2 separate regions of the Homo sapiens genome follow, and region 1 is linked to region 2. Evidence: promoter capture Hi-C in 16 types of primary human blood cells and fetal thymus (Javierre and others, 2016). All regions are on one chromosome and are shown on one strand. The core of a region is centred on a gene start or on the middle of the fragment in contact, and the rest is flanking DNA. Distances in the headings are between cores, read along the strand shown. Region 1 has its middle 24 kb from the start of CCNA1. Region 2 holds the start of SMAD9 (SMAD family member 9).

Evidence for each region. Contacts are between HindIII fragments. The CHiCAGO score rates a contact against its expected background, and 5 or more counts as called.
Region 1: a fragment that was not itself captured here is called in contact with the fragment with the promoter of SMAD9 in region 2 in 1 of 17 cell types (total B cells); the score reaches 5.1 in total B cells.

The regions. Positions count from the first base shown.
Region 1 is chr13:36,405,465-36,412,216 of GRCh38, forward strand. No RefSeq gene overlaps it. Among named protein-coding and RNA genes, the nearest start is that of CCNA1, 24 kb to the right of the region's middle. The HindIII fragment of the contact is 1,125 bases long and covers 4,035-5,159 here.
Region 2 is chr13:36,916,237-36,922,254 of GRCh38, forward strand. It overlaps SMAD9 (SMAD family member 9), which reads right to left and starts at 4,002. Exons shown (of 7, transcript NM_001127217.3): 1 at 3,880-4,002. RefSeq lists silencers at 3,913-3,982, 4,093-4,142. The HindIII fragment of the contact is 8,984 bases long and covers 1,380-6,018 here.

The DNA.
Region 1 (6,752 bases), core at 3,347-5,846, 510 kb before region 2:
AACTTGTGGTGAATGCTGCCTGGCCTGGGACTCACCCTTCAGGGCAATGGGCTACCCTTTTGCCCAGGGCAGGTCAAGAAGTACCTTCCAAGAATCAAGTCCTGGAATTGGGGACCCCAAGAGCCCACTTGGTCTCTTCCCTGCTGTGACCATGGTGGTGCCTGAAGCCACCAAGTCTCAGAGGCTCACCCAAGGCCCTTGATGTAGTATCTGGGTATTGTTCCTGGTTATTCAGGGACCAAGGACTCTTCAGCTAGCAGGTGATGAATGCTGTCAGGACTGGCTCCTTTCCTTCAAGACAACAAATTCCTTTCAGGTCCAAGTTGTGTCTAGAAATGTTGTCTGGGAGCTAGGGCCTGGAACAAGGGCCTCACGACTCTGTCTGGTGCCCTATCCTGCGGTGGCTCGGCTGGTATCCAAGATGTAAGACGAAGTCCACCCCAATTTTCCTCTCCTCTCCTCAAGCAAAGAAAGGGGTCTCTCTTGGAGCTGCAAGCGCAGCCTAGGGTGAGGGGAAGGGTGATGCGAGCACTCCCTTGGCTGCCCCAGCTGTTGTAGTACATTTCTTTTTATTCATCCTACTTGGAATTTGCTGTGCTTCCTGAATCTCAAGAATGGATGCCTTTAATCCATCCTGGAAATTCACATAACATAAAATTCCCTATTGTAAATTAATTCAGTGGCTTAACTCTTATATTTTGAAATATTATCTCTTCCCTATTCTATTCATGCTCTCTTTCAGGAACTCCAAGTTATATTAGATTTTCTTATTCGATCCTCAGTGATTCTTAATCTCTCTTTCATGGTTTCTGTCTTTTTGCCTGTTTGTGCTATAATATGTATAATTTCTTCAGTTCTGTCTTTAAGTTCAATAAATTGCACTTCAACTGTGTCTATTCTGTTGTTTAGCCAATCTATTGAATTGCTTTCAGTGATAATATTTTAATTTTTAGAAGTTACACATTTGATTCTTTTCTGAAACCTTCTGGTCATTGCCTATGCTTTCTTCATATTTTTGATACCTTTGGAGGAACCATGTTGAAATGGACACCTGGCTTCTTTAACATTTATTTTCTATTTATTTGAAAATTTCAAATCCGAAATCTTTTGGTGTCTTAACCAGGTACTCCAAGATACTACCAATCAGGTACACTTTTAAATGTTTAGGGTTTCCTGGATGCTGCAGGTAGAGTAATTTGAACCATAAATCCAAGTGATAGGGGGTTATTATTAAAGATCCTGGTCGGGCGCCGTGGCTCACGCCTGTAATCCCAGCACTTTGGGAGGCCAAGGCGGGTGGATCACCTGAGGTCAGGAGTTTGAGACCAGCCTGGCCAACATGGAGAAACCTTGTCTCTACTAAAAATACAAAAATTAGCCAGGCGCGGTGGCACATGCCTGTAATCCCAGCTACTCAGGGGGCTGAGGCAGGAGAATTGCTTGAACCCCAGAGGTGGAGGTTGCAGTGAGCAGAGATTGTACCACTGCACTCCAGCCTGGGCAACAGAGTAAGACTCTGTCTCTAAATAAATAAATAAATAAATAAAGATTCTCAGGTGAGAGTTTTCAGTTTTTATTTTTCTTTTCTACCCAGAGCAAAAGAGTATAGTCCTTCGAGTGTACTAATGTGTTTTGGGGCCTGGAATCTAACTCAGCTTTGTTCAGGCCAAAGGTCTTTCCTTTTTGCTCCAGAACAGTCATTAAAATCCAAGGCTCTTTTTACTGTATTTGAGGTGTTTTTGTGTAGGAATAGTTTTTCAGTGCGTGCCATATCACTAAAAGGAACTAAAGTCTTTGACAGTGGAATAACTCCTGGACAATTTTCTATTAAATATACAAATAAATCAGGAGTTGTGATTTTAAAACCACATGAAGTCAGGTTGTATTTTCTTAGCACTTTCGGGTAAAGAACAAAAATAAAAACAATTTCATGTGTGATAAAAGTAATTGGGAAGAGGTGTATTTTAGGATAATATGGATATGATAGCCATAAGAAAAATCATACGGTTTTATCCTTACTAATAAATAACATTGCTTAAAGGGTTAGCACCCTAAAAAATTTATCTTCTTGTGTATTGTTAAAGGAATTTGGCTCTGATGCATGAGTATGAACATCTATTAACACAATGAAATTAGTCCACAGCAGAACTGTTAGTTTAAGCCATGTTTGGCCAACACATATCTTCCTTGAAAAAGAATTAGACTAAAAGAGATGATTATCCCTTAAAAGCCATTTAGCACAACCCACATCTCATACCTTAATTTGTAATTTTTCATACAAATTCAGTTCTTTTCAGTAGTTTGGTGAATGGTATGTCACTTTTTAGATGGCAGCACTTATTTTTGAAGATCGCTATTAAGTAGAAGAAAACTGGCTACTTTCTATGTAAATATTTTGTTAAATATTTATAGCTCTCTCTAGAAGTTCTCCATCCGTTTCCATGACAGAGTCTAGCAGTAGATGTACCCAAAAAAATCTCCCAGGAATATCTTGTTTAGACTTATTTTGGGGAACCACTAACTCATCCTTATGGGTCCAGAGGGAAGCTATGGGCAGAGTCCCATGAGCCAGCTTCTGCACTTGAGAGTATGTAGAACCCCTGGGGGAGTGGGGGGGGATCCTAATATCAGGGAGAAAAGCTCTCCTTGTCTATAAACATGAAAAGTGAAACAAATGTTGACTTTCAGGGTGCTTAGTGATAAATCAGTTCAGAAGAAGAAGAAGGAGGAGAAGGAGAAGGAGGGGAAGGGGAAGAAGAAGAGGAAGAAGAAGAAGAGGAAGAAAAAGAAGAGGAAGAAGAAGAAGAGGAATAAGAAGGAGGAGGAGAAGAAGAAGAAAGAAGAGGAAGAAGAGGTAGAAGAAGAAGAAGGAGAAGGAGAAGGAGAGGAAGAAGAAGAAGAAGAAGAAGAAGAAGAAGAAGAAGAAGAAGAAGAAGAAGAAGAAGAGGAAGAAGAAGAAGAAGAATTAAAGAAACAAAGCTCTAGCTTTTGCTGATCAAATACCTTGAGGTCAGTGGAGGCTTCAGAGCTAGACTAGCTCTTTAATCCCGTCTTCATGTAACATCACTAGGTATTCTCTTACCCTTGTATGATCCCTGCTACAGGCTTAAAATGACTTTTGTGAAATTTATCTGGTGTCTAAGTGTTTGGTTTCGGGAGAGTTTAAAAACAAAACAAAAACCAAAACGTGAATGCTCTATTGCCAGAGGCAGACTATCTTAGCCATCTTGTATCCCTTATTCTGAATATTTAGTAGGTAACCATGATGTTTTTTGTTAAATTCAATAACAAGCACATTAATCTAATCATTGTTAAAAACAGAAGTGAGAGAGATACTATCAGCTTTATTTTTGAGCAGTGGTTTATCCCAAATACATGTGTTTTATCAGCTACCCTTTCTGTTTATAATCTGGCTTTGGAATTCCAGAAGACCATATAATTAAGAGAAATAATAATCAAAACAGCACCATATAACCTTTTTATTTTCTTTCCAAAGCAAATTTAGATAATATATTACTTTTTGTAACTTGGTACCTTTTCCAGAATGCTTTTCTTTGCCCCAGCAGCAAATAACAACAAAATCCCTGAAGCCTCCAAATATTGGAAACTATTTTTCTTGGAGTTTCCATGGTATCTCCTTAATGTAAGTGGATCTGAAAAGGCTTTGCAGATAAATATGTGAAAATAAATTTTATATCACTTCTAAAATCTGGCACGGGAAATTATCTCTAAAGACATTCATCTCATTGACTTGGCAGTTTTATTAAACTTTAATCACCATTTAAATATTTTCATTATTGAAGAGTGCATGTTCCCATAAGGTAAAGATTCAGCTACCCAGAGCTTGAAGGATAAATATATAAGTTCCACAAAGGTCTTATAACCCTTAGACACAGTTGAGTAATAATGCAGAATTAAATAGTGCTGTCAGCACTGAATCTATCAGTGAGAACAACGAGAGTCAAAGTGGGTGACATATTTCAACAAATGGTATCAGTAGAATATTATAAGAATCAGGATAGCTCAGAAGACTAAGCTTCATATCTAATTAATCCTGAAACATTATTTAATTGCCCAAATTAAATAATACTATTTCATGTTCCTAATTTCATAGGGGAAGGAGACCCATTCTAAAGAGATCTTAGTCTGGCCTTTTAAAAAGTCATCCTCATTCAGGACAGTTATTCAATTTCTTTTTAATTCTTCATTTCAAAGAGGAATAATTATGTCTACTTATTTTGAGTAATAAGTTATTGTATAATGTGTTCTAAGTGAAACTTAATTAGTAAGTCACCAGTCACATTTAGTGAAAATAGAAAACATACTTCCCTTTGTTTTCAGAAATAAGTAATTGCTTTTGTCAGTCCACAGAAAGCTGTTGACCATCTGCTATTCCTAATACTTTGAACACTGTGGAAAAAGTGTCAGAAGTAGAATAATAGTGCATTTATGATTGTTCTGGGAAACAAGAAACCAAGAATTGGACAAATTGTCTGGGTGCAGTGGCTCATGCCTGTAATCCCAGCACTTTGGGAGACCAAGGAAGGAGGATTACCTGAGGTCAGGAGTTTGATACCAGCCTGGCCAACATGGTGAAACCCTGTCTCTACTAAAAATACAAAAAAGAAAATTAGCTGGGTGTGGTAGTGCACGCCTATAATCCCAGCTATTCGGGAGGCTGAGGCAGGAGAATTGCTTGAATCTGGAAAGTGGAGGTTTCAGTGAGCCAAAATAATATCACTACACTCCAGCCTGGGTGACAGAGTGAGACTCCATCTCAAAAAAAAAAAAAAGGAATTGGACAAATGAAATATGTAGACATAGTCACTGCCTATGAGCCAAAATACAAATTTTTCTTTTAAATGTTAACATTACGTTGAAAAAGAAAAGAAACTGTATTTTCCTTAGTTTCATTATGATAGAGATATAACAATATTTTAATTAAAATGTATAAAAAGAATAATAATCTAATTCAGGGTAAAAATGCTAATGTACACAGAGAGCTTATGGTGTGACCTGAGTTTGCACAGGTGAGTGAGCTGTAGTTCTTTTCCAACAGAAGTCCATGTGCGGATCTGGACCTTTCCAGGTAGCAGTTCTGACCATGGCCTTCTAGCATGCACTCTCCTGGCTCACACCACCCCACAGATTGAGAAGAAAGCTTTCTCTGCCAATAATCCCATCATTTCTTTGTGATACACATTAAGTAAGACTCACTGAATTACTTCAGTGAAATCTTTGTTAAATGGGCCTTTGTGTATATGGTACTGTGTTTGGTTGCTTGTATTCAGAAATTAATCACATTGATAATGCGTCTGCTCCATGAAAATCTGTATTACTGTATTAGTTATCACACAATAATACAAAGGGAAAAGAAACCAATTTAGTAAAAACACAGACTATGTTATTCATAGATTTGAACTGAAGGATAATTACTGAAAGCTAAGCTTTTAAAATAATATATATGCTGATTAAAAGGCAACCCTAAATATGAGGTGGCTCTCTGTTTTCATAATGGAAAAATACAAAAAGCTTTTTGGTCAACATGAATATATGAACACAATGGATGTTAACAAAATAGTCAATGTTTACTTGAGCTAGTTAATATGAATCTGCTTATACAATTATATTTGAAATAATATTATAAAAATGTGCCAATTTTGAAATATTTCTTCTCATTTCAGAAATAATTTTACTCAAATTTTCTTCAAATTCTTGAAGACAAGAGTCTTCATTATCAGAAGAGCCACTGTTTGAGCCATCTAATTTTTTCCAATTTTAAGTATCTTGAGATAAAACAACTTTTAAGATAAAATACCTTTGGATTGGCATATGATACTATAATTGTAAGTTTTATTCCAAAACAAAGTAGCCAATTGTGAAACAGTAGAACAATTGTTTTTCATTGTCCTATGAGACTTACATTTGTTATCTCCACAAAGCAAAGGTGAGTTGCTTTATGAAAAACTGATCTTAGTAATCTTGTTTATATCCATATCCCAGCACTACAATTTGAAGGTCCTACCTGGAAGAATAATTACCAAATCTGTACTAAAAGGCTTTGTCTTTTTATTAGCTCAGTTAGATGACCTTTTAAGATTCCCCATATAGCTCTAATTGACATCTTTTCAGGCTAATTTGTCTTTCCTAAATAATTTGTAATTAAAATAGAATAATTGGAAGAATACTTCCATCAAACAAGAATCTTGGAGAGGGCTTGGATATTAAGTGTCTTAGTTCATTTGGGCTGCCACAGCAGAATACCATAGAGTGAGTACCTTATAAACAACAAATATTTATTTCTCATAGTTCTGGAAATTGGGAACTCCAATATCAAGGTGCCTGTAGATTCAGTGTCTGGTGAGGACCCGCTTCCTTATTCATAGTGGCAGTCTTCTCATTGTGTCTTCACAGAGCAGAAGGGGAGAGGGAGATCTCTGGGGTCTCTTTTATGAAGACGCTAGTCCCATTCATGAGGTTTCCTCCCTCATGACCTAATCAACTCCTAAAGACTCAGTCTCCTAATGCCATCACCTTGGAAGTTAGGATTTCGACATATGAATTTGAGGGGACATAAACATTTAGTCTATAGCGTTAAGTAACTCTTTTTCTCTGAGGACTAATTTGGTAAAACACAAAAACAAACAACATTCTTCAAATAACCTGGTCTATATTTTGGCTTAACAGTTACTCACATTTTGTTGTAGTTTTGTCTTTGGTATTATTGTTCTTTAGGGTAAAGTTTTTCAATC
Region 2 (6,018 bases), core at 2,752-5,251:
TGTGGAATCACATTAGTGTTTCATTGTGGTAGCCGTATCACATTAAAATCTGTTTTTCTACTAAATGGCTTCCATTGTGTATTTAGTGAATCTGATATGGAAAACTGCTAATGCAATAAGAGTATCATAGAAGCTTTTCCTGACTGTAATGCTCAGCCACAATGTTCAGGAGAAGGAGGCTCTCAACTGGGCTGAGGGGATTTCAGGCCTCTGAACTAGTCCTCAGCTCAGATTCAACACCAGCTTCTTGAAAGATGGACTTTATCCTATGGGTGAAATGCTTTTACAGACTTTATTTCAGGAGGGACCATGGGTTCAGTGAAAAAATGTGTCATGTATTTGTTATTTATTGATAGAGTACTATAAAGGGCACTGTGGTCAGCATTCAGAGAATAAAAAAGGTAGATGAAACAGTCCCTTCCTTCCTGGATCTTGTAAGGATGGTCTGAGGGGAAGAAATAAATTAGTCTATGAGTAACTTAATACAAAACAGGTAAGAGTTGAAAAGGCGAAGAGCCACAGGAGCTCGAAGGAGGACATACCTGGGACCAGGGTCATCACAGAAAGTCCCGTGAAGGCAGCGCCTGAACAGGGCATACAAGATGAAGAAGTCATATTTGAGGATCCTGTGGGAGGTGGGGAAGCTGGGAAGGCCTCAGCGTGGGGTAAAGGTGCACAGGAGAGGAAAGCCAGGGTATGCATGGAAACTAGCATTTGCTATTTTAACTGCAGCATAAAATAGGGAAAGACCGGGAAGATAAGCCTGGAAAAGTGGTCTTGGGTCAGCCTAACACAAAAGGAAGCCGACACCAAAGGAGAGCAGAATACAAGTCAGGCAAGTGCGGCCGAGGTGTCCGTCATGGTTTTGGGGTAGGAAGTGTCAGGATGAAGACCACCAAGCAAGAAGAACATCCAGTTTTCATGGGTATAATGACTCCTAATGCTAACAGATATCTTGAAATCCTAACAACTTTAGTTGACACAAGTTTCTTAAGAGACAAAATTTACCGGAATATTTATTTTAAAAGGTTAGTTTATTACCAAGGGATAATTGTTTATTTTTTTAATGTCCTTACTTAGGACATGGACATTCACCAGGATAACATGAAACATTGTGAAAATGCTCACAGTATTGTTAAGTACTTATGCATTTACTGTTTGCATTTTTTTTTTTTGCTTTAGAATAACTTTTCAACCCACTAGCAACAGTAACCAAGGAAATATAAATCCAACAGCCTAGAATTACAACTATTTGAGAAGATTCATGGTTTCAACGTACTGCTATATTTACTGTTTCATTCTGGACAGTTTCCCGTTTCTTTAACTCCTCTCTAAGTGTCCAAAACAATATACAGAAAGTCTGCACTAAGCTTCGTTAAAGCTTTAAAATTTAGCATAGTATGTCTGGCAAATCAGAAAAACCACATATTTGTCATAACCTTTACCTTCCCTAAAATCAGAGTACATCCTGTGGATAAGGATTATTTCCCACATATTAAAGCAGAACATGATGAAACTGCTGTCCTATTTATTACAGAGGGAATGTCAGATATAAAGTAGTTACCTTAATCCTACGGTGCTCACTTACGAAACACCATCCCTCCAGTTTGGCAATGCATAGTGCACTCTCATTAATCAGAATTAAACTATTTGGAAAACATATTGAGTATTTTCATATTGACATTGAATATTTTCATCTTTATGAAACAATTTCTGGACAGACTTTTTTCCCTCCAACTGACCACATGATTAGTAAAGATAGTGTACCACTTGTTTATTACTTATGGATATCTTTAGTAATGTTTCATTTAAAAAACAAAACAAAACTCTTCTTTCTCATCCATGTCTTGGGCAATCACAGATGCAAGAGTTGACATCTGTGAATATTTTCTGATTACTTACTAACTAGGAATATATAAGTTAAAAAAATTTTTTAAAGGAGAAAAGCCAAATAGTTCATGTTGACTTTGAAAGACTGATGACAATGATGTGGCAATTCTAAAGTACTTAGAGGTTTAACCCAAAATTTGTTTACGTCTTTGATTTTTAGTAAACACTGCACTGATAAACATGAGTTTGTTCAGATCAAGAGTATGTTGGCATTCTCTTAAGCATAGTTTGAAACCAGAGAGCTCAAGCATAAAACAGCTCTGACAAAGATAACCAGTCAAGCATAAAAATGGGAGTTGGTTGTGTCAGAATACATTAAGAGGCCGAAGGCTGTCTGGCAGACAGCTGTCTTGCCATCACTGAAGGTGACTATTACCACTAAAAGTTGTTTTTCGGATACAGTACTTGAAATTGCTGTCATCTTGTATTTAAAATGCTCCTTATTTATAAAGCGTCACATCCTTTTCTTATCTGAAGCCTCCTTCTTGGATAACCACAAACCTAAAAGCAGTCTAAAATTGTGCTGATGCTTTCCTACAAGCACAGGGAAACTCTTATATTGAATCTTTGTCTATTTGGAGTTGAGAATGTCTTTGGCTTTTATTTTAAATGCCTTCTTAAATATAGATCACTATTTTTAAAATGTAAACATCCAAAGGCATTCCCTCACACTTGGAGGAATGCTAAGGCAGGAGACATGCTTGTAGTAGTCACATTTCACTTTCCCAGACGGGTGCCACAAACGTTCCGCTCAGTTACTGCTTAGGAGGCAGCATTATTAAATGCCTCACGACTTAACGGTCAGCCTCCATGCTTCTTGCTAACCTACATTTCCAAAAGATCATCCGAGAAATCTGGCAAGCCACCGAAATGGTACTAGTAAACTGGATCCATCCAAAGCACTCCACAGTGCCCTGTGGGTGTGTTTCTCACTGTAAACTACTGGGTAAAGAATTTACATACAATTTTATCTCCAAACTCGATTTGTATCCTTTGTAGGTTAGTTCTCAGGAGTACCCACTCCAGCCCAGAAATAAGTCAACGTAGTATTTCCAAACTATCACTTCAAATGTCCACGGTCAAGGGCAGGAGGAGGAAGGAATAGTAACGGGAAAACTTGTCAGCGATTAGCCATCCATAAAAATGTTCTCCCAGCGCTCCTCCTTCCGATCACAAAGCTGGCGTCAGGCAGTCTCCTGTATCTGCTTCCCACCTCGCCCCCTCCCCTCTGCGGAGAGCTGGCACCGAGGGGCGGGCCAAGGAAAAGACAAACACCCCGGCTCCGACACAGTCCAAGCGCGAGCCCGGAGACACTTCAACAACATTCCTAACTTTTTTTCTCAGTTCGCATGCCTCAAAGGTAAACAAAGCAAAAAGCCTACGAAACAGAAGGCAAGTGAGGCCAATTCGGCGCTGGCGAGTTTAAAAGTGGCCCCCAAAGAGTCACAATGACGACCCCCGCCGCCCCCTCTGTCCGCTGTCCCCTATCTCCAGCTACAGCAAGCGACCCCTCAGGCGCCTATCCTGGTCCCTGCCCACGCCCCGGGCCCCAGCCCCGACCCGACCGCCGCCCCCGCCGCGGGTCGAACATCCCCTGACAGGTCCCGGGGCCCGCGGCGCGGGCGGATGCAGGCGCGAGGAAGGCGAGCTGCGCCGCGGCCAACTCCCCAGAGCAGTCCCCTCCGGCCCCGCGCCCACCCCACCCCACCCCACTCCACCCCAGACAGGCTCCACCAAAAAACCCGGGAACAACGACCGCCAAAAGCCAAGCCTCACGCCGAGGAGCCTCCCAGGCTGCCCCGAGGACGAACAACTTCGCCCTCCACTCAATGCGCTCACACGCACGCACACAAGCAGCGCGCGGCCGAGGAGGGCACGTCTTACCTGTCCCCGCCGTGCCACTCATCCCTCCCCCACCCAGGTCCGGCGCCCCCAACCCCGCCCCCGCCGTGGTCCCCCGGCCGCCCGCTCCGAGCGCCGCGCACTCACTGCCTGGCTGCGCGCGCCCAGCGCCTGCAGGGCCCGGCGGCGGCGGCGGGGACCGAGACAGCGGCTGCAGCAGCGGCGGCGGCGGCGGCGGCGGCGGCGGCCCCAGCCGGCGTCAGTCAGACTGGAGCCGCGAAGCCTCATCGCCCGTATTAGTGCGCCGACCTGGAAAGCGGCCAGGGAGCCCTGCTTGCGGCCCGCCCCCGCCCGCCGCCGCGCGCTCTGGCCGCTCCGGGAGCCGCAGAGGAGGGGGCTGCGCGGGCCCGGCGGGGGGCGGGAGCGAGACCGGCCCCACGGCCACGTGCGCGGAAACTCGCGGCGCGGGGGTGGCGGGGTAGTACTCCTCGCAGCGGCCTGCGGCTCGGTTCCCGCCTCTTCCCCACCCCCAGCCCCGCGCTGCCCTCTCGGTCCCCCTGCGCGACCCCAGGCTCGGCCCCTGCCCGGCCTGCCGGGGTGGCCCGGGGGTGGGGTGGGAGCCCTTTGTCTGCGTGGGTCGCCTCGCGTCTCTCTCTCCCACCCCACCTCTGAGATTTCTTGCCAGCACCTGGAGCCCGAAACCAGAAGAGTTGTCAGCCCAACAAGAATATAGGATCACCGGCCCATCAGTCTGGAGACCCTTCTGAGCTGCTGTTCCTCACATGTTTCTGGGCCCTGATAGTGACTCTCACTTGCCCTGTTTGTTCCTGATTTGCTTTTCGGAGTAAGGGGATCCTGTCCCCATGGACAGTGACAGAGCAACTGGGCCGCAATGGCATAGGCAGAAGAAAATCTAATCACTCTGGGGGTGAGTGGTGGTTAAAACGACTCATGTAATTATGTGGATTGTAATTTCCTTACACATATTTATTTGCTTAACAACCCAGCATGTGAGATATATTATCTAATCTAATAAAAGATACAAACTTATGGGCACACAGCAATGTTACTGTACAACTTTCTCGTCTCACGGCCTGGCTGTCCCCCAGGTAGCCTGCCTCTTAAAGTCACTGTGGACTCCTGGAACCCACTCAGAAACGCCACTTAGGAAGAACCACCTCTGATTCCCCATCAGCCCGTAGTTCCTCACAGAAAAGGCATTTGCTGCAGGGGTGAACGTGGAATAAAGCCACAGGGCAGTTTTCAGCTTGCTCCTGTGTGCAGGAAAGTCATACCTCCAGTTGGCCCCGATGGCGGCTCCGAAATGTAAAGCAAGGCCTTAAATTTAACTGCTTTTTCTAGTTCTCAAAGCACTGCACTTTCTTCATGGCAGATGCTATTTTTGCATTATTATACCGTTGTAGTTGAACGGTGATTTGTTTAAAACAACATTTGCAGCAGAACCTTAAATACCATGCCTTAACCTCAAAGTCTTCTTTCTACACTGGCCCAGATACCTCTGCACCCGGCTATGTGTTGGGTTTGAGATTGTCCTGGGTGAGAAACACCAGGAAACAGCGGGACCGGTAAGGGCTACAGATTATATATTAAGGATTAGGCTGGATGTGGACTTTATTGCCAGTAAACTAATTAGGTCCTCAGAATTGATACCTTGTGGCTCAAGTTTTTAAAAATTAAATTAAGAAAAGAAATGGCCCAATCACTATCTCAGTTTCCTTCTCGTATATGAGCATAATGCAGAGGACAAGATGCAGAGAAAGAAATTATAACCTCTGCAGCGCTGGCTCATGCTTCTGGCATGGAGTCTTTCTCAGTTCGCAGAATTCTCTTGACTCTTGGCAGGCCTTTGATTTAGAGTATGTCTAGTCTGCTCTTTTCTGTACGTTCTCATTTACATACCAGGATATTTCTGCACGATGATGACTTTTTCCTGCCTAAACATTAGTCTGTCACTGATATAATTCCTATCATGTATTCCTCAAGGCTAGTATAGAAAGTTAATCCATTACGCTCAAGAACAATAAGATCTGGTGAGTTCCAAGAAGGAGAAAATGCTTGGCCTAAGACAGAAGGCGCAGTGTTGACACTCCATTTTACAGAAGCTGACTGTCCTGGTTAATGGAAAGCTAGACTTCGCTTTATCTTTCCCAGTGATTTCTTGATTGGCTGTGGTTTTACTGCTTAATAGAACTTCCACCAAAACATTCTGTTATGGGAATCATATGAAAGGAGAGACTCAGAGGTTGTGATTTGGTAGAACCGCCA